Regions from separate parts of the Homo sapiens genome. Here all the other regions are linked to region 7. Evidence: promoter capture Hi-C in 16 types of primary human blood cells and fetal thymus (Javierre and others, 2016). All regions are on one chromosome and are shown on one strand. The core of a region is centred on a gene start or on the middle of the fragment in contact, and the rest is flanking DNA. Distances in the headings are between cores, read along the strand shown. Region 1 overlaps MIR3681HG (MIR3681 host gene). Region 2 overlaps MIR3681HG (MIR3681 host gene). Region 3 overlaps MIR3681HG (MIR3681 host gene). Region 4 overlaps MIR3681HG (MIR3681 host gene). Region 5 overlaps MIR3681HG (MIR3681 host gene). Region 6 overlaps MIR3681HG (MIR3681 host gene). Region 7 holds the start of TRIB2 (tribbles pseudokinase 2).

The links. The method cuts DNA at HindIII sites, captures the fragments that hold promoters and counts their contacts. A CHiCAGO score of 5 or more calls a contact.
Region 1: a fragment that was not itself captured here is called in contact with the fragment with the promoter of TRIB2 in region 7 in 1 of 17 cell types (neutrophils); the score reaches 5.1 in neutrophils.
Region 2: a fragment that was not itself captured here is called in contact with the fragment with the promoter of TRIB2 in region 7 in 1 of 17 cell types (neutrophils); the score reaches 5.1 in neutrophils.
Region 3: a contact is called between a fragment that was not itself captured here and the fragment with the promoter of TRIB2 in region 7, in 1 of 17 cell types (neutrophils). The highest score is 5.9, in neutrophils.
Region 4: a contact is called between a fragment that was not itself captured here and the fragment with the promoter of TRIB2 in region 7, in 1 of 17 cell types (neutrophils). The highest score is 5.2, in neutrophils.
Region 5: a fragment that was not itself captured here is called in contact with the fragment with the promoter of TRIB2 in region 7 in 2 of 17 cell types (M0 macrophages and M1 macrophages); the score reaches 5.6 in M0 macrophages.
Region 6: a fragment that was not itself captured here is called in contact with the fragment with the promoter of TRIB2 in region 7 in 1 of 17 cell types (neutrophils); the score reaches 5.8 in neutrophils.

Annotation. Positions count from the first base shown.
Region 1 is chr2:12,230,614-12,233,881 of GRCh38, reverse strand. All of the region lies in intron 3 of MIR3681HG (MIR3681 host gene), which reads right to left. Among named protein-coding and RNA genes, the nearest start is that of MIR3681, 33 kb to the right of the region's middle. The HindIII fragment of the contact is 6,789 bases long and covers 1-3,268 here.
Region 2 is chr2:12,374,865-12,377,826 of GRCh38, reverse strand. All of the region lies in intron 4 of MIR3681HG (MIR3681 host gene), which reads right to left. Among named protein-coding and RNA genes, the nearest start is that of MIR3681, 180 kb to the right of the region's middle. The HindIII fragment of the contact is 7,160 bases long and covers 1-2,962 here.
Region 3 is chr2:12,250,393-12,253,634 of GRCh38, reverse strand. All of the region lies in intron 3 of MIR3681HG (MIR3681 host gene), which reads right to left. Among named protein-coding and RNA genes, the nearest start is that of MIR3681, 53 kb to the right of the region's middle. The HindIII fragment of the contact is 3,488 bases long and covers 1-3,221 here.
Region 4 is chr2:12,338,980-12,342,388 of GRCh38, reverse strand. The region is part of intron 4 of MIR3681HG (MIR3681 host gene); the gene reads right to left. Among named protein-coding and RNA genes, the nearest start is that of MIR3681, 140 kb to the right of the region's middle. The HindIII fragment of the contact is 1,815 bases long and covers 1,241-3,055 here.
Region 5 is chr2:12,208,166-12,211,234 of GRCh38, reverse strand. The region is part of intron 3 of MIR3681HG (MIR3681 host gene); the gene reads right to left. Among named protein-coding and RNA genes, the nearest start is that of MIR3681, 11 kb to the right of the region's middle. The HindIII fragment of the contact is 546 bases long and covers 1,355-1,900 here.
Region 6 is chr2:12,393,856-12,397,019 of GRCh38, reverse strand. All of the region lies in intron 4 of MIR3681HG (MIR3681 host gene), which reads right to left. Among named protein-coding and RNA genes, the nearest start is that of MIR3681, 200 kb to the right of the region's middle. The HindIII fragment of the contact is 4,254 bases long and covers 1-3,164 here.
Region 7 is chr2:12,715,180-12,718,289 of GRCh38, reverse strand. TRIB2 (tribbles pseudokinase 2) reads right to left here and starts at 1,354. Exons shown (of 3, transcript NM_021643.4): 1 at 1-1,354. It overlaps LOC124905974 (a long non-coding RNA gene), which reads left to right and starts at 1,532. Exons shown (of 2, transcript XR_007086222.1): 1 at 1,532-3,110. RefSeq lists enhancers at 887-956, 805-1,444 and silencers at 1,397-1,456, 1,547-1,766. The HindIII fragment of the contact is 5,863 bases long and covers 1-2,679 here.

The DNA.
Region 1 (3,268 bases), core at 121-2,620, 480 kb after region 7:
ATTTATATTTATCTGACTAGTAGGGAGAATGAATGAAATGTTATATGTATGCTGGTCATTCTCATTTTCTCTCCTATAAATTGTGAAGTACTTTGTCCATCTTCCTATTTGTCTCTTTTTCATCAATCTCCAGGAGCTCTGTGTAACAGAAAAACAACATTTTTTTCCGTCATCTGTGTGGCAGATATTGTCCCTACCCTTTGTTGTTTGATGTTTTGTAGTTTTTCATAAAACTTATACATATTCTTGTTCCTTTTTAAAATATAGAATTTTTCCTCTAATTTTAAAAAGCATCTGAATGAATATAAACTTGGGGATGCTCCACAAGAATTCAAAGGCATCATCTCCAAAGATACCCAAGATATCAATGGATCTCACTCACAGGAACAATAAGGAGTTTATATCATCATCTTGTGCGACAGTGGAATCAGCCAAGTCTTCTGGGCCACTGACTTCTGTAATGTGGAGAGGACTGAGGAGTCAGGCTGGCCTGCAGAGCACTCATTTAAAAGTTGAATAACTCACATCTGAAGTTATAATCACCCAATCTGGTCGTTCCACTAATGGTATCCTCTTGTGTACCAAAGGCAAAGGTGACAAACGGAATGAACGTGCCCTTGTCTTTAAATCTCACCTTACAAACAACAATAGTGAATTATTTTATGGTATGCTATAGGAAAACAATCTCTGAAAAATGGCATACATTTGTATTGCATTTTTAAATTGCTTTCACAAAAGATTCATTAATCAGTCTTCCAGAAATAACAGTGTATTTCATCATCTGCAATCCTCAGATTTAGAAACAGATTCACAGATGTGAGAAGTGACATACTACAAATAAAACAAATAAGTGCTTAAGTTGGACTAGGACCCGGCCACAGGCTGCCTTCCAGACACTAAAATTTCTACCTCGAAATTCTATGGATTAAAAGAAAAGGAATAATTAAATATCTACACTAAACTCTAAATATTTTGAAAATGCACAATTCTAAAAGCAGTACCTAGTGGGGGCTTAGAGTTGGAATACTTCTTCCCGTTGTTTCTTCTTTCTATGTAGATTCCCCTTCTGAACTTAAAACTCACGTCACCACAGTTCTTCTCGGTGTTTGATTGCAGATGCCAAAGGTGTCATCAGATCTGGTTAACAGATGCTTTGACTTTAACTTTCAGTGGGATTGGCATCAAAATAAATGTGGTAACCTTTCTCCTAAGGTTTTGTGTTTCACCTAGTGTTCTTCTTCCCCTTGTCTGAAAAATATTTATTGACGACAGAGCCCTAGTCTCTGAAGATAATAAAAAGTTATCTAGGGAAAGAAGAAAACAAAGTAAAATACTCTGGTTTATTGTTGAACTGTTGGTTCAAGTTTTGTTTCAACAAAGACCATGGAGGATGAAGCAGGAAGTCGAGGAAAGTTCGCTCTTGGGTATGAGCAGATGCGGGACATGTGGAGCCCTGTCTTGGCCACTGACTGATGGGGCACACACCTTGATTGCTGATGAATGTGGCAGAGGTGACGACACCATTGCTACTCTTTATTGATTTGTTGCTATGTTCTAAGATTTATGCATTATGTGGATTATCTCAATTAAATATTTACATAACCTGGGCCTGGCATGGTGGCTCACACCTGTAATCCCAGCATTTTGGGAGGCTGAGGTGGGCAGATCAGGAGTTTGAGGTCAGGAGTTTGAGACCAGCCTGGACAACCTGGTGAAATCCCATCTCTACTAACAATACAAAAATTAGCCGGTCATGGTGGCTCCTGCCTGTAGTCCCAGCTACTTGGGAGGCTGAGACAGGAGAATTGTTTGAACCCAGGACACAGAAGTTGCAGTGAGCCGAGATCGTACCATTGCACTCCACCCTGGGCAACAGAGTGAGACTCCATCTTAAAAAAAAAAAAAAAAAAAAAAATTACATAACCCTAAGAGGCTTCATGGGCCCATTTACAGAGTCACTGTGAGGATAAAGAACAGCAAAGCACAAAGTGACCTCATCGGGCCATCTGTGCTAGGTTAGGCCTTTGCACATAATTAAACTTCGATAAATATTGTAGTGGTATGAATGCTGGGGCAGAATAAAAAGGGTACTAATTGAAGAGTCCATTAGAGCAAAATGCAAAGTAATTTGGAATCTACAATGGAAATGTGATCTTTGCCTAACCACAGTTAAAACTTGGTAGTGGTAGCTGAAGATGATTTTTTAAACAACAACAAAAAAATGAATTTGAGGTAAGAAACTCATTATACAAGATACAATCATTTTGGAAAGAAAAGTATTATTTAACACATCTCCCCACGTGATATGGTTCCAGATTGTAAGATGACTTTTCTGTGTTGGAGTTCACTCAAAACCCATCTTGGGTACAATGTGTGTACAGATCTAATTCTAAAAATATCTCTTTGTATTTTGAAACTTATAACTAGTCTACTAAGTGGGGTAAGCAGGAGTGGGGAGAGTTTCAAGTTTCTCATTCTCTTGTTGCTTCTAGGAGAATTGCTACAATGCCCATCATTTTTATCTCTATTATGCCAAACAGATAATATTTTTGAAAGGCTCCAGGAAATTACTTGAGCGTAGGATTATTCAGGGATCACAATCAATGAACTTTTTTTTTCCACATTTGTTACAAGACTAGACAGTTTCATTTCTGAACAAATATTCTGACACCCTTGAAGATGCTTTCTGACTGATGTGCCCCACATAAGATCCTGAATCTACTGCCAGATGAAGGAAAGCTCCATTGGAACAAAAGGGCTGTCATTACACAGCCAAATGGCTTTTTATGAAGCCAACCTATATGCAGGTTTCAGGGGGAGTCTGTGAGTTTCTTTTTCTTGCAGGATTGTCTTTGTATATTTCACAGTGATTTCAGTAGAAATGCAAATCTAGGATGTGGCATGGAGGTACCACTCAATTAAGACAAAGTTCTCCTGTCTCTCAGATGGCTTTATTTTGAAGAAAGTATAGAACAAGCTGTCCAACCCATGGCCTGTGGGCCACATGCGTCCGGGACAGCTTTGAACGTGGCCCAACACAAACCCGTTAACTTTCTTAAAACATTATGAGATTTTTTTTGCGATTCTTTTTTTTTTTTTTATTTTTTGGCTCATCAGCTATCATTAGTGTCAGTGTATTTTATGTGTGGCCCAAGACACTTCTCAATTCTTCTTCTTCCAGTGTGGCCCAGGGAAGCCAAAAGATTGGACACCCCTGGTGTAGAACAGATCAAATCCAACACACTCGGACAAATATGTACCAACTTAC
Region 2 (2,962 bases), core at 397-2,896, 340 kb after region 7:
CTGTTTTAATTTAATTTAGTTTTTTTGAGATGAGGTCTTGCTCTGTCACCCAGGCTGGAGTGCAGTGGCACAATCACGGCTTACTGAAGCCTCAACCGCCAGGACGCAGGTGATCCTCCCACCTCAGTGTATGCCACCATGCCTGGCCAATATTTTTATTATTATTATTTGTAAAGACACAGTCTCGCTATGTTGCGCAGGCAGATCTCAAACTCCTGGGCTCAAGTCATGCTCCTGCTTAAGCCTCCCAAACTGCTGGGATTAGAGGCATGAGCCACTGTGCCCAGTCAATACCCTACTTTTAAAGAAGCAAACATCTTTAGACTAAAAATAGTTATGGAGTTATAGAAAACTCAGTAAAAACAGAAATAAAAACCTAACTCTATTTTAGTAAAAGTCTAACTCTATTTTAATTTTTGACATAACCAGTCAGAGAAACTAAATAATCCAAGACAATTTTGAATGCAGTACTCCAAATATACACTTTTAGTATGATATTGCTTAAGGACAAAAAGAACCACCAGAACCTTTATTTAGTAAGTTTCTTGTTAGTATTAATATTGATATTAAAAATGTGAAAGTGTTTACTTCTACTACAGACAAGCAAATAAGTAAGTGCCTTGATATCATTAGAACCCAATATTTTCCTTGTAAGAAAAATAAAATAAAAATATCAAATAAACTAAACTAAGGAAATCCTGCCAGGTAAAATTTGAATTAGAAATGTCAGGATGATCTCATGGTTTAAATATGCAAATATTTTCTTGCTTTTCTACTGAAAGGGCCTAGAGTCAATGATGACACAGAAGCAGTGAACACACATGGCTCTCAGATCTTAATTCCCAAATGCTAGGGAGTCGGGCCTCTCTAAGAAATGGCCGATTCCAGATCTGAGACGTGGAAATGCTCAATAAATCTGCAACATCATGTGGCAAAAAGCAAAAAAGTGTTGAAAGCCTAGGTGACCATGAATAAGGGATACAGCAGGGTGTTATGTGTATTTCAAAATATTATGAAGAATGCCTCCTCTTGTTTGGTTGTAATCATGGATATATCACCCCAAATGAAATAGCTATTCCAATAAGCATGGCCACCTCACCTAGGAAGATATAAACATGGTGAGCATGAGAACATTAGAGAATAATAGTGTAACTCTCAATAATTTAACTCAAATGATGTCACTCAGTGATGTAACTTTGAACTAATAGAAAATGAGATGTACCGGAACTCCTGGGTCCTGCACTAACATAAGACTGCTCAGAACTGCTATACTCCCTGCCAGCCTGCTACATCCCCCCAGCCAGTGTCATTGAACAACCTTGTACTCTCTTTCTTGTGACATTCCTGGAAACATTAGAATATTCACAGGCAGAGGACAACTCATGATGGGCAAGGCAGACAGAACAGTACTGAACAATTAGGGATTCGGGTCATAGTTCCCTTTCCCACCTTTTAATTTTGCTTAGCCCCTTAGCTTTTTAAGGAGATAATGCTTGGATTTGTAAATGCTGAAAAAGTGTTATTTGTATGATTTCTTTCTTCTGCTTTTGCACTCTGTAGCTCAAAGAACTACATTTTCACTGTGAGTTGAGTGACTTGAAATTGAAACTAAAATCAGAAGTTTGAGTGAAACACAGGAGCCATCTTTACAAAGCTCTTATTGTCTAAATCTGTCATAATTTGACACAAATAGACTAATTTTGGAAATGGATTATAACATGTTGAATTAAAAAAAACTATGTGTCCTTATTGTTATGTAGAAAACAGGGATAAAGAGGAGAAAAATGGAAAGAAAGTCAGCTCATAAGTTCTATTAGAGTTCACTAGAGAAACAGAACCAGCAGGAAATATATACATATATAATATTTATAAAAATATATATTATACATATGCTATATTATATATTTATAAATATATTACATATTACATGTTTATAAATGTATTATATCATATATAATATATTTATATATCATATATTCAGGTTTATAAATATATATTATATATTTATAAATATTTATATTTTATATATGTATATTATATAGTACGTATATTATATATTATATACTATATAATATATGTATATAATATATTATGAATCATACATATATTATATATCATACATATATTATATATCATACATATATAATATATATTTATAAATATATATTTTCTACTTCATATATATAGACACACAATATATGTGATATATGAAGAGGTTTTTATAAGTTATTTGCTCATGATATTATGGAGGCTGATTTGCCCTCTGGAAGCTGGAGACCCAAGAAAGCCAATGGTGTAGTTCACATGCCCAAGATTCAGAAAGCTGATATTATAGATTCCAGTTCCAGTTTGGGTCTAGAAACCTGAGAACCAAGAGCACTGGGGGCAGGAGAGGGTTAATGTCCCAACTCATGTAGTCAGATGGAGTGGATTTAACCTGCCTCTTCCTTTCCTTTTTGCTCTATTCAGGCCCTCAGTGGGTTGGGTGATGCCCACTCACATTGGGAGGAGGTCTGCTTCATTTGGTCCACTGGTCCCAATGCTCATCTCCTGAAACACCTTCACAGATGCACCCAGATACAATGTTCAATCAGCTATCTGGGCATTCCACGGCCAAGTCAAAGTTGACACATAAAATTAGCCATCACATAAATGTAGAATAATGCTTAGGAAAAAATCACTATTTTGCAACCCCTAAGATAATAATTAATTCAGGCAAGTATCATTGAGAGATACTAAAGTCACTCATAAAAAGTTGCTCGGAAATACAATAATCACATGATCTTGAAGTTTCATCTCATGTATTAATTAGTAATTATAAAAGGGAAAATGTATTTCTAAAATGAAGGTGCCAGGCTATCACCACTTAAGTGATCAAACCTAGTATTACCAATAAATATTACCAATAATGGGACGAATTGACAATATCTGCCTCTGATGTTAAAATAAAATTATATAACAT
Region 3 (3,242 bases), core at 228-2,727, 460 kb after region 7:
GATACTCTCACCATTGAGTTACTCAGCAGCTTGGAAGTCCATGATCTCTAGGGTATAGAGTAACCTCTCCTTTGAGTCTAGAGGTGACTCAAGGGCTGGGTGTGGTGGCTCATACCTGTAATCCTAGTACTTCGGGAGGCTTAGGTTGGTGGATCACTTGAGCCTAGGAGTTCAATACCAGCCTGGACAACAGAGCAAGACCCTGACTCCCAAAAGTATATATATATAATTATAATTAATTAATATTATTATATTATTAAATAGTATTATAATTAATATATATTTATATTAATATATATTTATATGTACATATATGTATGTGTGTATATATACATACATATATATGTATATATATACACACATAGAGAGAGAGAGAAGTAGCTCACGATCTGGAGATCTATGAACTCCAGATCATGAGTTTGGGCATCTCTTCCCCAAACATACATATAATAGAAAAGAGTGTAGCAGATCCAGTAGAAGAACGATGAAATTCCCACCGAGAACGGGAAGAACAGGAAACACAAGGCATTCACTTGTCCTTCTTCATGATGCACTCCTGCTGGAGAAGTGATTCTTGATCTGGACATGGAGGAAGTTATTTGGGATTAGACCCTGGATATGCCTTCTGGGAGGAACTGCTTTGTCTGTTTCATCCATGACCTGGTTCTGGCTTGTGGGATGTGGATCCTCGTTCATTATCTTCCATGGTCACATGGGTGTTGGAGGCGGAGGAGCTTTTGCAGTACAATTCTGATTTTGTGAACGTTAGGATTTAAGAGTTGTTTTATAATAACTGGCATTTTTTTAAAAATCCAGGAAAATTGTTTCTTTAGCAATATAATTTCCTCAAAAAGTTCTTGTTATGGGTTGAATTGTGTCACTCAAAATTGATTATGTAGAAGTTCTAACCACCGGTACCTTGGAATACGACCTTATTTGGAGACAGGGTCTTTAAAAAGCTAAACTGAGGTCATTAGGGTGAGCTGCAATCCAATATGACTGGTGTCCTTATAAAAACAGGAAATTTGGGAGCTATGCATGGTGGTGCATGCCTGTAGTCCCAGCTACTCTGAAGGCTGAGGTGGGAAAGTCACTTCAGCCCAGAAGTTTGAGGCTGCAGTAAGCCATGATCAGTGGTAGTACAAGTGGTAACTGTACTACTCCAGCCCAGGCAACAGAGAACCTTGACTCTAAAATAAATTAATTAATTAATTAAATTTACAAAGGGGTAAATTGGAGACAAACTTGTATCCAGGGAAAATACCTTGTGAAGATCAAGATGGCCATCTGCAGACAAAGAGGGGAGGCCTGCCTCAGATGCGTCTTCACAGCCCTCAGAAGGAGCCAACTCTGCTGACACCTTGACTTTGCACTATTAGTCTCCAGGAATATGAGACAATAAATTTCTGTTGCTTAAGCATCCCAGTTTGTAGTAGTTTGTTACAGCAGCTCTATCAAATTAATACAGTTCCTTTAAAAGTTTCTGATCTATTTTCTACTGGTCAGTCCTATGTACAAGACTTAAAGTTCATTTCCATACATAATAACAAAGTTTGCTTTATCTCTCTGCTTTCTAAGCCCCATGCCTGTATCTGTTGACATAATGTTTGATATCATGCAGCCATCTGAAACATTAGGCTTGAGTGGAAAGGTTTTACCCTTAATCAGATCTTTGTCATAGGGCTGATTCTCTTTGTTTAGCCAAATAGACATAATAGGTCCTTTTATTGTTGACATCCTTTTCTAGAATTATCTCTTCCCATTTAGGATCTAGATGCCATCTGCTTTCTAACTTGGCAAAATCTCAAATTTCTGAACTCTTCCTATTTTCTTATGCTTTTTCTTTCAAACCAGTCAGTCCTTTCTTGAGCTTATCTCTTTCTTGTAATACTTTACTGCAAAGTAAAGGCCAAAACTCACTAACACAATAGTTCTTACCGTTTTCCCTGGAGATTTGGGCTCAGTAGGAATGTCATCTGTTTCTAGGCAATAGTTTGATCACATCAATAGATTACTGTTCTAGGCTACAATATCTTTTATTATTGGTTCTGCCTAACTGCTAAGTCAATACCACCTATTTTAGGTATTTATTAAGTCAGCATTTTTATTTCTAGTAGCAATTTTTGTATTAGTTATGGTATTAGTAGCAGCTGTGACAAATGAACTCCCAAAGTTAGGTGCCATAATATAACAAAAATTTATTTCTTTTTCACATGAAAGATATTTAAGTGGTTTGTTTTGTTTTGTTTTGTTTTTTTATATGGTGACTCAGAGACCTGGGTTTCTTTCATACTAAGACCCCACTAATCCCTGAGGACTCAGCACTCCCGGCAATCAGCTGGTCAAAAGAAGAACATGGAGTATGGAGAAGAAACAATCTCTTCTTGAAAGCCTTGCCCTGAATGGCGTAAATCACTACTGCTCCCACTCTACTGTAAAAGTCAACCACAAGCCTGCTCCTAATTGCAAAAGGGGCTGGTATATTGAGTCTAGTGGTGTATCAGTTCATTTTCATGCTACTGATAAAGACATAACTGAGTCTGGGCAATTTACAAAAGAAAGAGGTTTAATTGGACTTACAGTTCCACATGGCTGGGGAGGCCTCACAATCATGGCGGAAGGCAAGGAAGAGCAAGTCCCATCTTTTGTGGATGGCAGCAGGCAAAGAGAGAGCATGAGCAGGGCAACTCCTGTTTTTAGAACTGTCAGATCTCGTGAGCCCATTCACTGTCACGAGAACAGCACAGGAAAGACCCACCCCCATAATTCAATCATCTCCCACTGCGTCCTTCTCACAATGTGTGGGAATTATGGGAGTTATGAGATGAGATTAGGGTGGAGACACAGAGCCAAACCGTATCAAGTGGCGTACCCAGGAAGAAGGGTATGCATACACTTTAGTGAGCAGATGATGTCTTTGTCATTAGAGACATTTTGCCAGTCTTATAGATGAGAAAATTAAGGTTCAGAGAAATAATGTAACTTGTCAAAGATCACATAGCTTATAAATAATAAAATTGGACTTGACCATGTATGTCTGAGTTTTATATGAGAAAAAAAACAAACAAGAGACTAGCAGAATGATTAATATTCTAAAAGCTACAAATTTACCAAATTTAGAAAATAAAAATAAAAGCACTAAATTGAATTTGAAGTTTAGATAAACAACAACAGAAATTTTAGTGTAAGTATGTCTCATGCAATACATTATCTTGAAAGCTTGCCTAAAAAGAATGTTTTAA
Region 4 (3,409 bases), core at 899-3,398, 380 kb after region 7:
AAAAGTATTGAACAAGCAGAGAAATAACCATATGGAAAGTCATACAATCATGAGAAGGCACAGAAAAGGAAGGCCGAATACCTCAACAAGACCAGAATATGTAAGTTTTTAGTGGCATGTGGGTAATGAATCATAAGAGGAAGGCAGAGGCAAAATCTTGGAGGACTTGGTTTGTCATGCTAAAGGAGTGTAGACTGTATTCATATGCAACAAGAAGCAACACAACTGCATTAGCCTGCTCGGGCTGCTGTAACAAAATACCAGGCTGGGTGGCTTTCACAACAGAAATATATCATCTTGAAGTTCTGGAGGCAAAGGTCCAAGGTCAAGGTGTCAGCAGGTTTGCTTTCCTCTGAGGCCTCTTTCCTTGGCTCACAGATGGCCGCCTTCTTGCCACACCCTCATGTGGAATTTCCTGCATAGGCACTTGTCTGTATGCTCTCCTTCTTTTAAATTTCATCTTCATATAAGGACACCAGTTATAGTGGATTAGAGCCCACTGTAAAGATCTTATTTTAACTTAATTACTTCTTTATAGATGTTATCTCCAAATATGATCACATTCTGAGGTTCTAAGGATCAGGAATTCAATGTATAAATTTGGGTAGGGAGAGGAGGACATAATTCCGCCTATAACGATGGCCTAGTAGCCAGAAGCAGAGTCTCTGGAAATAGACTTCTTGGGTTCAGACATTTGCTTTCTTACCTAGAAGCTGTATGACTTTGTATGACTCTCTATTCCTCAGTTTCCTCATTTACAAAACGGTATTAGTAACTACCTCTTAGGTTGTTATCAATGAAAAGACTGTTTGATGTAACAATAAATAACAGCAAAATATTCAGTGGGGAGGGACATAATCAAGGGTCCCTCCGGGAGCATGGTAGGAATAAGTTGGAAGTAGAAAGGCTGGAGGCTTAGAGACAAATAGAACAGACAGACTTTTATAACCTAGTTTATTATATTTGAGAAAGGAGAGGAAGGAGGCTGATACAGGTGAAGACATTGCTGCCAACTGGGATAAAGGAAACCACAGAGAAAGTAAGGGGGGCAGGGGGATTAGTTCAGTTAAAGACATTCTAAGTTTAAAATGCTTGGGATTCACCCAAAAATTGAGTCTAGCAGATAGGCCTGAAGCTTGGACAGAATTTGGGCAGAATAGAGTTGAGGGTCATCACCAAGTAAAAAAATGGCAGCTGTACTCATAAGCTATGAATGAAATTGTCCACAGAAAACCAAGCTTCTATATGACTTTGAGACTGGAACCACAATTAGGAACACAGTCACCACAGAATATAAGACCAGCCCTCATATCCCTGTAAAAGGCTGTTCAATTGATCAGGGCCCCCACTTAAGAACAAGGCCAGGTCTTGATGCAGAGTGATTCACCAGCCTTCAGTTTCCAGGAATGAGTGTTGGAAAAGACAGGAAGGAATACAGGACTCTGAAATTGCATCTCCTTTTCAATACATTCTGTTGTGTTCTCACCGAGTGAAATTTAGAGATCGAAAGTATCATTGATTTAGTTCACAATTGTCTCTTAGGCACAGGAAATAAAGGCGTAATCAAATGTAATGTCCTTCTCAGAAGCCCCCATCACCACCATATATATAACTGTTAATTTGGGCAGATAGTCAGGTCATTGTGAGCCAGTGTTCTCTTCTGAAAAGTTATAATAAAATCACACTAGCCTTGCCCTTCCTCTGTTATCAGAGCGATGATATTTATTATAACAGTAGTTTCTAATTCCCCGAAGTGTCTATCTATAGAATATTTTTGTAGTATTATTATTCTTGTTAAGCACTGACATTATCCACAGCCAGTAGACCCAGTGGACCCTGTCTTTGTCTGTGTCATCACCTTTAAATCAAACTACCACCAGGTTCACTATTTGTTAGTGCCCAAAGCAGCCGTCTAGTGACTGGAAAGTGGCTATGTGCAGAAAAACTATTTCATCACAAACCATGTGAGAAGTCATCTGAGAAAGCTATCCCCTCACCCCAAGCATCCTGTGATGAAGGATAACATTTATTTCATTATTATTCACTCATGGGACAGCAACTGGGCAGGAAGTGGAGCCCAAACTTACAGATAGTTGATTCAGTCTCCAAACCATCGGCCGATGAGGACTAAGGCCCCGCCTCTTTAGCAAGCAGAAATTATCCAAAGGCATCTGGAGAGATGAGAAGCAGCCTGGTTCAGTGAAAAGTTCACCAAGCTGGGAATGAAGACCGTGGTCCCCTATCCCAGGCCCACCACAGATGGATTCCCTGACTAAACATGGACAAGGCATTTTTCTTTTCTAGGCTTCAGGTTTCTCCTCTGCAAAATGAGGTCTTTAAGTTAGGTTCTCCCTTAGGGAAAGGAGCTCCTCCTTAATGATCATCTAACATTTCCTAGTGGTCTACATACATTACCAAAATTTAATATACAATTAGCAAGGTAAGGGTTAGCACCCTATTTTATAGACTGAGATGCTAACACTCAGCTCTAACTTCTCTCTCTTCTTCATCTGTGCTACATTTTTCCACTGCCCCACACTGGACCAGCTCCATGAGTGTCCAACTTTAGATGGGCCCCATGTTTGGTTGAATGCCCTACTCCCAGGTTTTGAAATTCTTAGCAGTTTTAGAAGAAGGGTCTCACTTTTTCATTTTGCTCTGGGCCCCACACATGATGTCGCTGATCCTGCCTTGATTCTATGATCCCTGGCAATTGAGCCTCACAGTAGTAGGTGCTCAAAGGAACAGACAGAGGTGTCTGCCACAGTGCACAGTTCTCATCCCTTGGAACCACCGTGATGTGGGTTAGATGAAGGGGACAGAATGTGAGCTAATTAAAGTGAGTTGAGTACTTCCAGGGAAGGACACAGGGTCAATAGTCACGGACAAAAACTCTCATGATCTACAGAGAACTGAGAACTGGCTCCTTGCCTTCATTTGTTCTGACGTGCTGTTAAAAAAAAAAAATCTCTTTGTTATTAATTCGAGAAGTCAGGAGCTGTGGACGTGTTCAATGTGGAGTGAACACATTGAAAGGCGAACTTCCTTCAAAGCTTTGATTTCTCTGAATCCTCTGGTTAGTGATCACCACAAGATTTGAGTAGTGGATGGGAAAGGAAGACAAAGACTTCATTCAAATGATTACAATAAACCCTGGGATTCTAAATCCCACCAGAGTTCTTCCAGGGTGAATGTCTGATGTGGAGTCTGATACTTCCAGGAGGCACCCCATCTCTCACACCTGTCTCTGTCCAAGCCAATATGTGGCAGTGGAGCCCAGGGCTGTCATTGCTCAGAGAAGGCAAAGCTGGCTGTCTACAGCTGTCCAGGATCTCCAGCAAGCTTCCTGCATCCCAGGCCAAATGAGGAGGATCTGGAAGAGCAGCTCAGGAAATGTACCCAAGAGAAT
Region 5 (3,069 bases), core at 378-2,877, 510 kb after region 7:
TTTGAAATCGGCTGGACGCAGTGGCTCACACCTGTAATCCCAGCACTTTGGGAGGCTGAGGAGGGCGGATCACCTGAGATCAGGAGTTCAAGACCAGCCTGGCCAACATGGTGAAACCCTGTCTCTACTAAAATACAAAAATTAGCCAGGCATGTTGGCGGGTGCCTGTAATCCCAGCTACTCAGGAGGCTGAGATGAGAGAATCTCTTGAACCCGGGAGATGGTGGTTGCGGTGAGCCGAGATCGTGCTACTGCACTCCAGCCTCAGCAGCTGAGTGAGACTCTATCTCAAAAAAAAAAAAAAAAAATTTGGAATCGGTAGAAAAGAATGCTAGCTGGGCTTGTGGGCCTGACCTCCTCCAGGTTCCTAAGGATGTTAATTTAGAACAAAGAATGTTAGAGTTCAGTCTCCAGTTCCCCCTTATCTGAGGTCTATGAGGCAGCAGATTTGTTTGCCGGGGGGCGGGGTGGGTCCCAGTTTCTGAAAAAAAACTCAGGGACATTCGCTAATGTTAGCAGTGGAGCGTATCCCAGTCACGTGGCACCAAAGAATGTTAGTGGCGGCGAATCCTACGGGTCTGCAGCAACCTCAGTTCTTGCCTCCTAAGAAGAAAGCATTTAACCGAGGAACATAAGGCAGAGGGAGACTAAGGCAAGATTTAGAGCAGGAGTGAAAGTTTATTAAAAAGCCTTAGAGCTGGAACAGAAAGAAGGAAAGTGTACTTGGAAGAGGCCCAGGCGGGTGACTTGAGAGATCAAGTGCAGGGTTTGACCTTTGACTTGCATAGGGTTTTATATGTTGGCTTGCTGGGGACTTGCGTCCCTTCTCCCCTGATTCTTCCCTTGAAGCGGGCTGCCCGCATGTACAGTGGCCTGCCAGCACTTGGGAGGGGCCGCATGTGCAGTGTTTACTGGAGCTGTACACATGCTCATTTGAGGCATTCTCCCCTTACCAATGTCCCTAGAAGGCGGTCTTCCCTTACAATGTCCCTAGAAGGTCATATATCAGTTAAATGCTGCCATTTTGCCTCTTAGTGCTCATGCTCAAGCCCACTTACCCACCTCCTGAGATCTTATCAGAAAGCTGATCACCAGCTTCAGGTTTTTCTGTCTGTTGAGAGACTGCCTTTCCTTGGTGCTGGCTGCAACCAATTATTATTTTAGAGGGAGAGCTTAACAACTTCCTGACCATCACCTAATGTTTGCTGGACGTTCCTGGTGGGAGTCGGGGGAGCTCTCTCCCAACCTCTCATGTCCGACCAGCTACTTACTGTGACATTTAGAGGTTATCTTTAGTTTCCACAGGGGAATCAAATATCTCTGACTATAACTTCCTTGCTTATTGTTTTAAGCTTCTATTACCTTCTTGCTTATCAAGATATTTGTAGGGAAAACTCTAACTTTTTCCTCCATCTCATACCACCAGAACAACCATCATCAACACAGAAGACTTCTGTGACCAAATGTGTGGGAGTTTTCCCCACTCACCAAGCTGCAGACACCAACTGGGTGTCCTCCAATTCAGTTCCCATACTCTACCTGGAGATAGTGTCAGATCCCACAGGTTGGGCTCTCAGTCCCCAAGACTAACCCCTGACACACAAACCAGTTGCAAGTGCCGGCCTCCAGAACTTGCTTCTGATCAACTGGCTTCAAGTTAAGGTTCCCAGGACCCCCTCTTTGGATTCAATTGATTTGCTAGAGTGCCTCACAGAACTCAGGGCAACACACTATAAAGCATATTACAAAGGAGACAGATGAAGAAATGCGTAGGGCGAGGTATAGGAAACAGGGTATGGAGCTTCCATGCCCTCCCCGGGTGCTGCCCTCCAGGGACTTCCAGGTGTTCAGCTGTCCTGAAGCTCTCTGAACCCAATGCTCTTGGGTTTTTATGGAAGCTTTGTCACATCGGCATTCCTTCCTCCAGAATATAGGGCAGGACCTTCTCTGCAGAGGGTCTTAATACCCACAATTAGAAAGGTAGAGGATGATTAGAGTCCTGCCTTGGTACAGGTGAAAGGAATGCAGGAGAAAGCCAGAGAGATTCTGTTTCCTAAGGCCTAACACCCACCATTATAATAAAAGACTGTAACAACAGCAATGGGAGTTATGAGCCAGGAACCGTGGACGAAAACCAACATATATCATAACACCACAAGTTACTTATTTGCTTCTCAAGACTAGCTAGGTTTCTGAAATTACCCTTGAAGGAACTTAAGAATTTCCTTAATTTTTATGCTTGGGGCAGGGGGAGAGGGGTGCACAGGCTCCTAAGAGGGGGTTCTTGCTCCGTCTCCTAGGTTCTTCCTTTCCACATTCACAGCTACTTCTGGAATCAGAGGTCAATGGGACTTGGATCTGAAGAACTATAAAGCCTGAGGCAGATTCCCCAGCTGATGTCTGGTCTGCATATTAGATCATCTTCCTATGGCAACATTTTCACTGTCTCCTTTCCTCTCTAGAAATGTGCTGGCTCTACTTTGCCTCAGGTACTCAACTAGGTTTTCTAGGCTAGGTTCAGTACATTCTCTTCCTACTCAACTCCAGACCTCAACTCATGGTCACAAACCTGGGAGACTAACCAACATAACCTTGAACAAATACTTAACGTCTCTGAGCTCAAGTTCTTACCCCCATAAAGTAAGGATGCTAAATATGATGACCTCATATTCTTGCTGAATCATTAGGATTCATAATAGAAATCAGCAGCTAAGCTAAGACATAGATCCAATTGACAATCTGATCACTAGTGGTGCATCTGAATATATTGTTCTGGATGTTTTTACTTTTTTGAAAGTGGAAAAATTTAAATACATATGCAAGTAGAGAGAATGGATTAATTAATGGACTAACTCCACCACTTCCATTTTTTCTTCGATTATTTGAAAGTAAATACCAAGCCATATCACCAGTGTCATATCACCTATAATAATTAAATATGTATAATTAAGAGACAAGATATTTTAAAAACATAACTACAATACTGTCATCACACCTAAAAATATTTACTTAATATTATCAATTATCCAATCTTGCTTAACTCTCAGGGTATTTTTATTGTTACATTGA
Region 6 (3,164 bases), core at 621-3,120, 320 kb after region 7:
ACTTGGGATGAAGAAAAGTTTAAAGAGCGTAACTCCCACCATGTAGCTGGTTTGGTCACAATCAGTCACTTTCCTTGAGGCCATCAGAGAACTGACGTTGCAAGGCAAATACATACCCTGAATTCCAAATGAGGGCACACCTTTCCAACATGAAATTCTTGTTCTCTCAATTCTTGTAACAGAACTCTCAAATTCTTGTAACAGAACTCGGAGATACAAGTGACTGCCGTTCAAGTAAGTAAGAAGACGACGACCAGAATTTAACAAATTTTTAAAGGTCAAGTGTCAGTTCAGAGCAACTGCAGGTCCAGACATAAGAAGAATTTGCACTCACTCCCAACCTTCTTGCCATGGCCTCCCCAAGCTGTTCACCAGAAAGACCAGGAGCAGAGCAGAAGACCAGAAGGGACCCTCTTCAGTTATGCACATGCAGGATGTACTTGACTGCTACGAGAGACCACTCACAAAACACTACCCATTTCCTGGACCCCAGTGCTCTTAGGGGAGGAGCAGTAAAGTACATCATTCCCAAGGTACAAGCGAAAACCAGTTTCAATGTAGGAAGGATAAAAGAAAAAAAAAAAACCCTAGAGGACTTTTTTCTAGGGGAAAAGAGGCAAATCATTTTAAGGGACAGGAGGAAGCTCCAGCTCAAAAGCAACAACAGATACTAGACAAAGTGTTAATGCCATAGAGAGGAGAGACAGGAATGTTAAGAAAGCCTCAAAATCCAAGAAATAAGGATCAGTGTAAAACTGACAGGGCACAAAATAACAGAGTTGTCCCCACAAACCCACCGTGAACCTAGATTGGTTAAGAAGGAGCAGCCAGTATGTTTGGGGCAGGAGCAGGAGCATAGGGTGACCTCCTCCATGGCACAGGCAAGCAAGAATATCAGAGAGCTGAAGGTAGAGCAGGGGCTTCGAGGAAAACTCTGGCACCCCAGTCCCACCTGCCTTAGTCCATTTGTGTGTTGCTATAAAGGAATATCTTAGGCTGGGTGATTTATAAAAAAAGAGGTTTGGCTCACAGTTCTGCAGGCTGTACAAGAAGCATGGCACTAGCATCAGCTTCTGGGGAGGGCTTCTATAGTCAGCATAAATGTTTCCAAAAGTGAAAACAATATAAGAATCTAGATAGTATTTTTCAGACTCACATAACCTTACATTCCCAGTAGTATTACAAGAAAAACAAAAGGAAGTTCTTCTGGCAAAAGTTTATGTTGATAGAAAGAAACATGGATCTATAGAGAGAAATAAGTGCTATAAGGTAAATATTAAAAAATTTCTTTATTTTTAATAATTAAAAAATTTACTGTCTGAAACAAAAATTATAGTTTTTACCTAGTAGTAAATGTAAAACTTATAATAGCAATAGTGCAAAAGATGCAAGGGATGAATCAGAAATATACAGTTGTAAAATTCTTATACTGTTCATGAAACAGTACCATATTATTTGAACATAGGCTGTGACAAGTTAGAGATGTAGATATTGTTAACCATGTGGCAATCACTTAAAAACTCAAAATGAGATATAACTAATAAGCCAATAGTGGAGATAAAATGGAATAATAAAACATTTGAATTCAAAGGTAGGCAGAAAAAGAAGAAAAAAGAAACAGATAATAGACAAGCAAACAGAAACGGTTAGCAGGATGCTAGGTTTTAACACAATGATATAAAAAATTACATTAAATAACAATGGTCTTGTTACATTGAATTCACGCACGCGCACACACACACACACACAAACAACAACAGCAAAGACCTAATTATATGCTGTCTAAAGGAAACATTTTAAGTAGAGAAATACAGATAGATTAAAAGTCAAAGGATAACAAAACGATAGACAAACACTAGTCAAAAGAAACCTGACATGGTCTCTCTTTCTCTCTTTTTCTCTCTCTCTGATCCTCTCTCTCTCACACATGTACATGCACACACATGCACAAGAAGCCTTTGTTTTGCTGATCAAGGTGGTAGATCAAATGCAAATGAGTTCTACAAAAGTAGAAAATCAACTCAGAATGTTAGCTGAAAAGTTGTATGCAGAGCTGACAATGAGAGTCTAGTCAAAGAGAAAGTACATGGAAAAATTGAATAGGACTACAAAAAAAGAAAGAGCAAGCGAGAGACAGGAGGAGAAGGAGAAAGCATATTAGGATGAGGGAGGGTGGCCAGAATGGTTGGTAAGAGCGAAAGTTTAAGGGAGATGGTTGGACAGTTTTGCTGTGTGATGTGGATAATCCCTTCTGTTTACCTACAACACTCTGCTAATATAATTATATGGGTTCTCTTTGTTAGTGGAGTTAAATTTGTGTATGAGTGTCAGAGTAGGGGAGAGGGCTAGATCACATCAGCAGAAGTATATATGTTCATGTGTATTTCAGGAGGACATGCTCAAACTGCCACATGAAAGAGAAAGACGGTTCAGTTTGAGTCACGTTTGCATCTCCAGAGCCAAGCGAGATGCAGGACACAGTGAAAGAACTTTAAAAAGTAATCGAACTAAACTTGCTATGAACAGAATGTTTGTGTTCCTCAAAAATTCATATATGGAAGCCCTAACCCCCTATATGACTGTATTTGAAGATAGGGCTTTTAAGGAGTTAATTAAAGTTAAACGAGGCCACAAGGGTAAGGTCCTTATCCCATAGGATTGTGGCCCTATAAGAAGAGGAAGAGTGAGAGAGACGCTGTTGTCTCTCTCAGCCTTGTGAGGACCTGGTGAATGTTCATCTGCAATCCAGGAAGAGAGCCCCCACCAGAAGCTGCCCATGCTGGCACCCTGATCTCAGACTTTCGGCCTCTAAAACTGTGAAAAATAAATGCCTGTTATTTATAAGCCACCCAGTTTATGGTTTTTGTTACAGCAGCCTGGACTAAGACAAAACTAAACTAAAATGTATATCTTGATCAGGGTTGGTAGATGGACCCCAAGACAATAACCATATCTTACATGCAGATTTTGCTTGAGAATTTTAATTTAAATGTTCTGCATTATAAGTGCCTATATATTTGTAAACATTTGGTACATTTTGCCTTATTGACTTTCATTAAGTTTGTGCTAAGTTATACACCCGACAGATACTATATGAGAATGCTTTTCTTGTCAGATAGAATATTCTCTCCCTGCTCATTTTCTTCCTCTTCCCCCTTCTGCTC
Region 7 (3,110 bases), core at 105-2,604:
CGACAAACAAAAAAAAACCCGCTGGAGAGATGAGTCGCTGGCGAGTGCGGCTGCAGGCGCCTCGGTGCCACTGATTTTAAAAGGGAGCGAGAGGGGAGGGGACAGAAGAGGGGCTGCGTGGAGAAAGAGTTAGAAGCCCCCAAATGGGCGCCGCCGGATACCTCGTCTGCTCCGAGCCCGGCTCCCGGGGGTCCTCGGTCGGCAGGCAACTCGGGTCTTTTTGTTACCCCAAAGCAGTCGGCGATGTGCAGAATCGCCGCACTTTTAGTTACTCTGTGTGTGTGTCCCCGGCGTGGATCTGGATGAGTACCCGGGCTGCTAAGGTGCGGAGCTGCAGCGCCAGGGCTCCCGACGCGACCCCCAGGCCGGCTTCCGAATCGCAGACGGGGCGGAGGAGCCCGCGGTAGTTTGTGCAGTCTTCGGGGAGCTCACGGCGGCGACTCAGTCCCAACGCGTTAGAAGCCAAACAAAAAGAGAAAGGAAACAAGCACGGGTCTACCGGCTGGCGACGCACGGCAGCCAGAATCCGCGCTGCACCCCCTTTTTTTGGTGGAAAGGGTGGGGGGCGTGTAAGGGGGGGGTGCGGGAGAGGGCAGTTACCTACGTTTTAACTGTAGATGGCGTCTGAGGCTTTTCCAAGATCGCGAGCTCTCCAAAAATTAAACAAACAAACAAAAAAAAGAAAAATTGCAAGGGAGCATTTAACTTGGTGCGGTCAGCGCTGCCAACAAAAGATTGCAAAAGCTGGGCACAGAGTTGCGGCGCGGGCTGGGCGCAGGTACCGCGACAAAGCCCTGGGCTCGGCCCGCCGCGCGGAGGTCAGCACAGGCTCATGCTGTCGCCGCTCGCTCGCGCCCCAGGTCTTCCTCCGAATGCAGCCAGACGTGCAGGAGAGAACGAGGACAGATCGGCGGTCTCCGATTTCGCCGGCACGAGCTTGCGGGGGTCCTGCGGGCGCTGCAAGGGGAGCTGCGTCCCTGGCCCTTCCAACGCGCGGCGTTCCTTTGCCCCTTTCCCGCTGGAGAACTGGATCTCGTCCTGGAATAATTTGCAATCACCCCGTCTCCCCCTACCCCGAGACCAAATTGCCCGGTGGGGTTTGTTTTGGAGAAAATTGACGGCTTGTCTCCTCCTTCTTTGATTTCTTGCTTGCCCCCCCCAGAGAAAAGAGGGGACCGTGTATTTAAAAATTAAAGGGGACGGCCGACGGTGCCCGAGGCCAATCCCCGCGCTCAGCACGCCCGCATCCCCCGGCGAGGCGGTATTAATAGTTACTTACGTGGCCGGGGATCTCGGAGCGAGCGGGGCCGTGAGTGCGCGTGTGCGCGCGCGCGCCTCGCTCGCGCTCGGTCTCCCCATTCAATGTCACCGACACATTTCCACGGAGCCTCCGCCCCCCCCCCGCCGCCCCCGCGACTGGCTCAGCCCAGAGCCGGCCCCGCCCCGCCCCCGCCCGGGCCCCCCTCATTGCGCCGGGCGCCCATCAATCAGCCCCGCCGCTGCCAGTCCTCGGGCGGCTCCCCGCGCCGCTGCCATTGCAGCTCCGTGCCGGGGGCGCCAGCACCGGCCTCGCAGCTCCCTCGCCCGGCCGGGGAGGTAAACAAAGTGAAATATCCTTCCGCGGCCCGGGGCCCCGGGCGCAGCACCCTGGGTGTCGGCTGCGAGCCGGCTGCGAGCCCAGCTGCGGGCGGCTGGGCCGGGGTTACCAGCAGCGACTCCCGAGCCGTTCCCCACACGCTGCTCCCGCAGCGCCCGCTCCAGCTCTTCGTAGCTCGTTCATGTTCCTGGCGCTTTTCCCCAGAAAGCCAGGCACGCTCTGAGCATTGGGCCCCCAGGCTCAGATGTGGCCCTGAATGAGGAGCTCTGTTTTGGAAGAATGCGCTTTCATCGGTATTGCTGCCTGGAGTTTCGAGAATTCGTTTCATGGTATCTCTCCGACATCCTCCTCTCCATTTAAAAGGAAATCCATTGCTTCCTTTTAGTTGGTGTCACCGCTTGCCCCCGATCCCCACATCCTGGGCTTGTATTTCTAGTGTTTTCAGCAGAAGAGGAACTGAAGGCATCTTTTGATTCAGGTCAAATTTAATCACTAATTCTTCCCTTCCCAGTGCATTGCCTGGAGGGCCTTGGAGGCCAAGCTAGACAAAACTTTGCACCCACACCTCCAGGGAGCGCTGTTGGGTCCTATCCAGGGTGCTGGGCGTCCTGAGTCCTCTTCTGTTAGCCAGGTGAAGGCTGCAGTTTCACGCCCCACTCCACCCCCCATTTCGCCACCCCCCCCGAATTATTCGTAACTTCCTTGGGAGATTCCAGTCCGCGGGCTTGGACAGGAACACCGGAAGCAAGGGGCTTGAACTCAGGCAGAGGCTTCAAACGCCAGCCTTGATCTAAGATATCCTGGTGAATGAGAAGCGATCTAGTAGAGGACAAACTTAAAAAAAAAAATCCCAAGGAACTGAGAAAGGGGAGTTGGGACGACTCCTGGAGCCCTCTGAGCTTTTGCATGCGTGTAGTATATTTTCCACTGGAGGAGGGGACTAAATTATTGTCCACTGTAGGACACTTTCAGTAAAAGAAGGGAGCTATTTATAATTATGTCCACTTGGGACAACAGTCACTCTAATGATCAGGAGTCCTGGGAATGTGGCCAGAGATGGAGAGGACATTGACTATAAAGCTTCCACCCAGCAGCACAGAGTTAAAAGGAAGGTTAAGAAGTGGACCCGTGCCTTCCAGCACCTCTCACCATCCTACTCCCCACAAACCTGCCTAGGATTCAGTCCCAGATCCCAGCAGAATAGATCTATTTCCCTAGGCGATCACCAGGACCACTGACCGAGCAGGGTCCCCTAATCCAGTCTTACCCCAGGAAGACACTTGGCCTGTGTTAGGAACAGTCTCGAAGCAACCCCTGCTGTTGAGTCAGAAAGAGAGGTGCCTAGCCTCCTCTATGCAGTGGCCAAGAGAGCTTTGTAATAATTAGGGGTTGGGACACCTGTGTGCTAGCCCTGGCTGGGTCTCTGATTTCAAATGGAAATTGGGTGAAGACCTTGTTTTTTCTCCCTAGATCCCTGTTTCTTCATCTGTAAGATGAGAAGCATAATACCCGC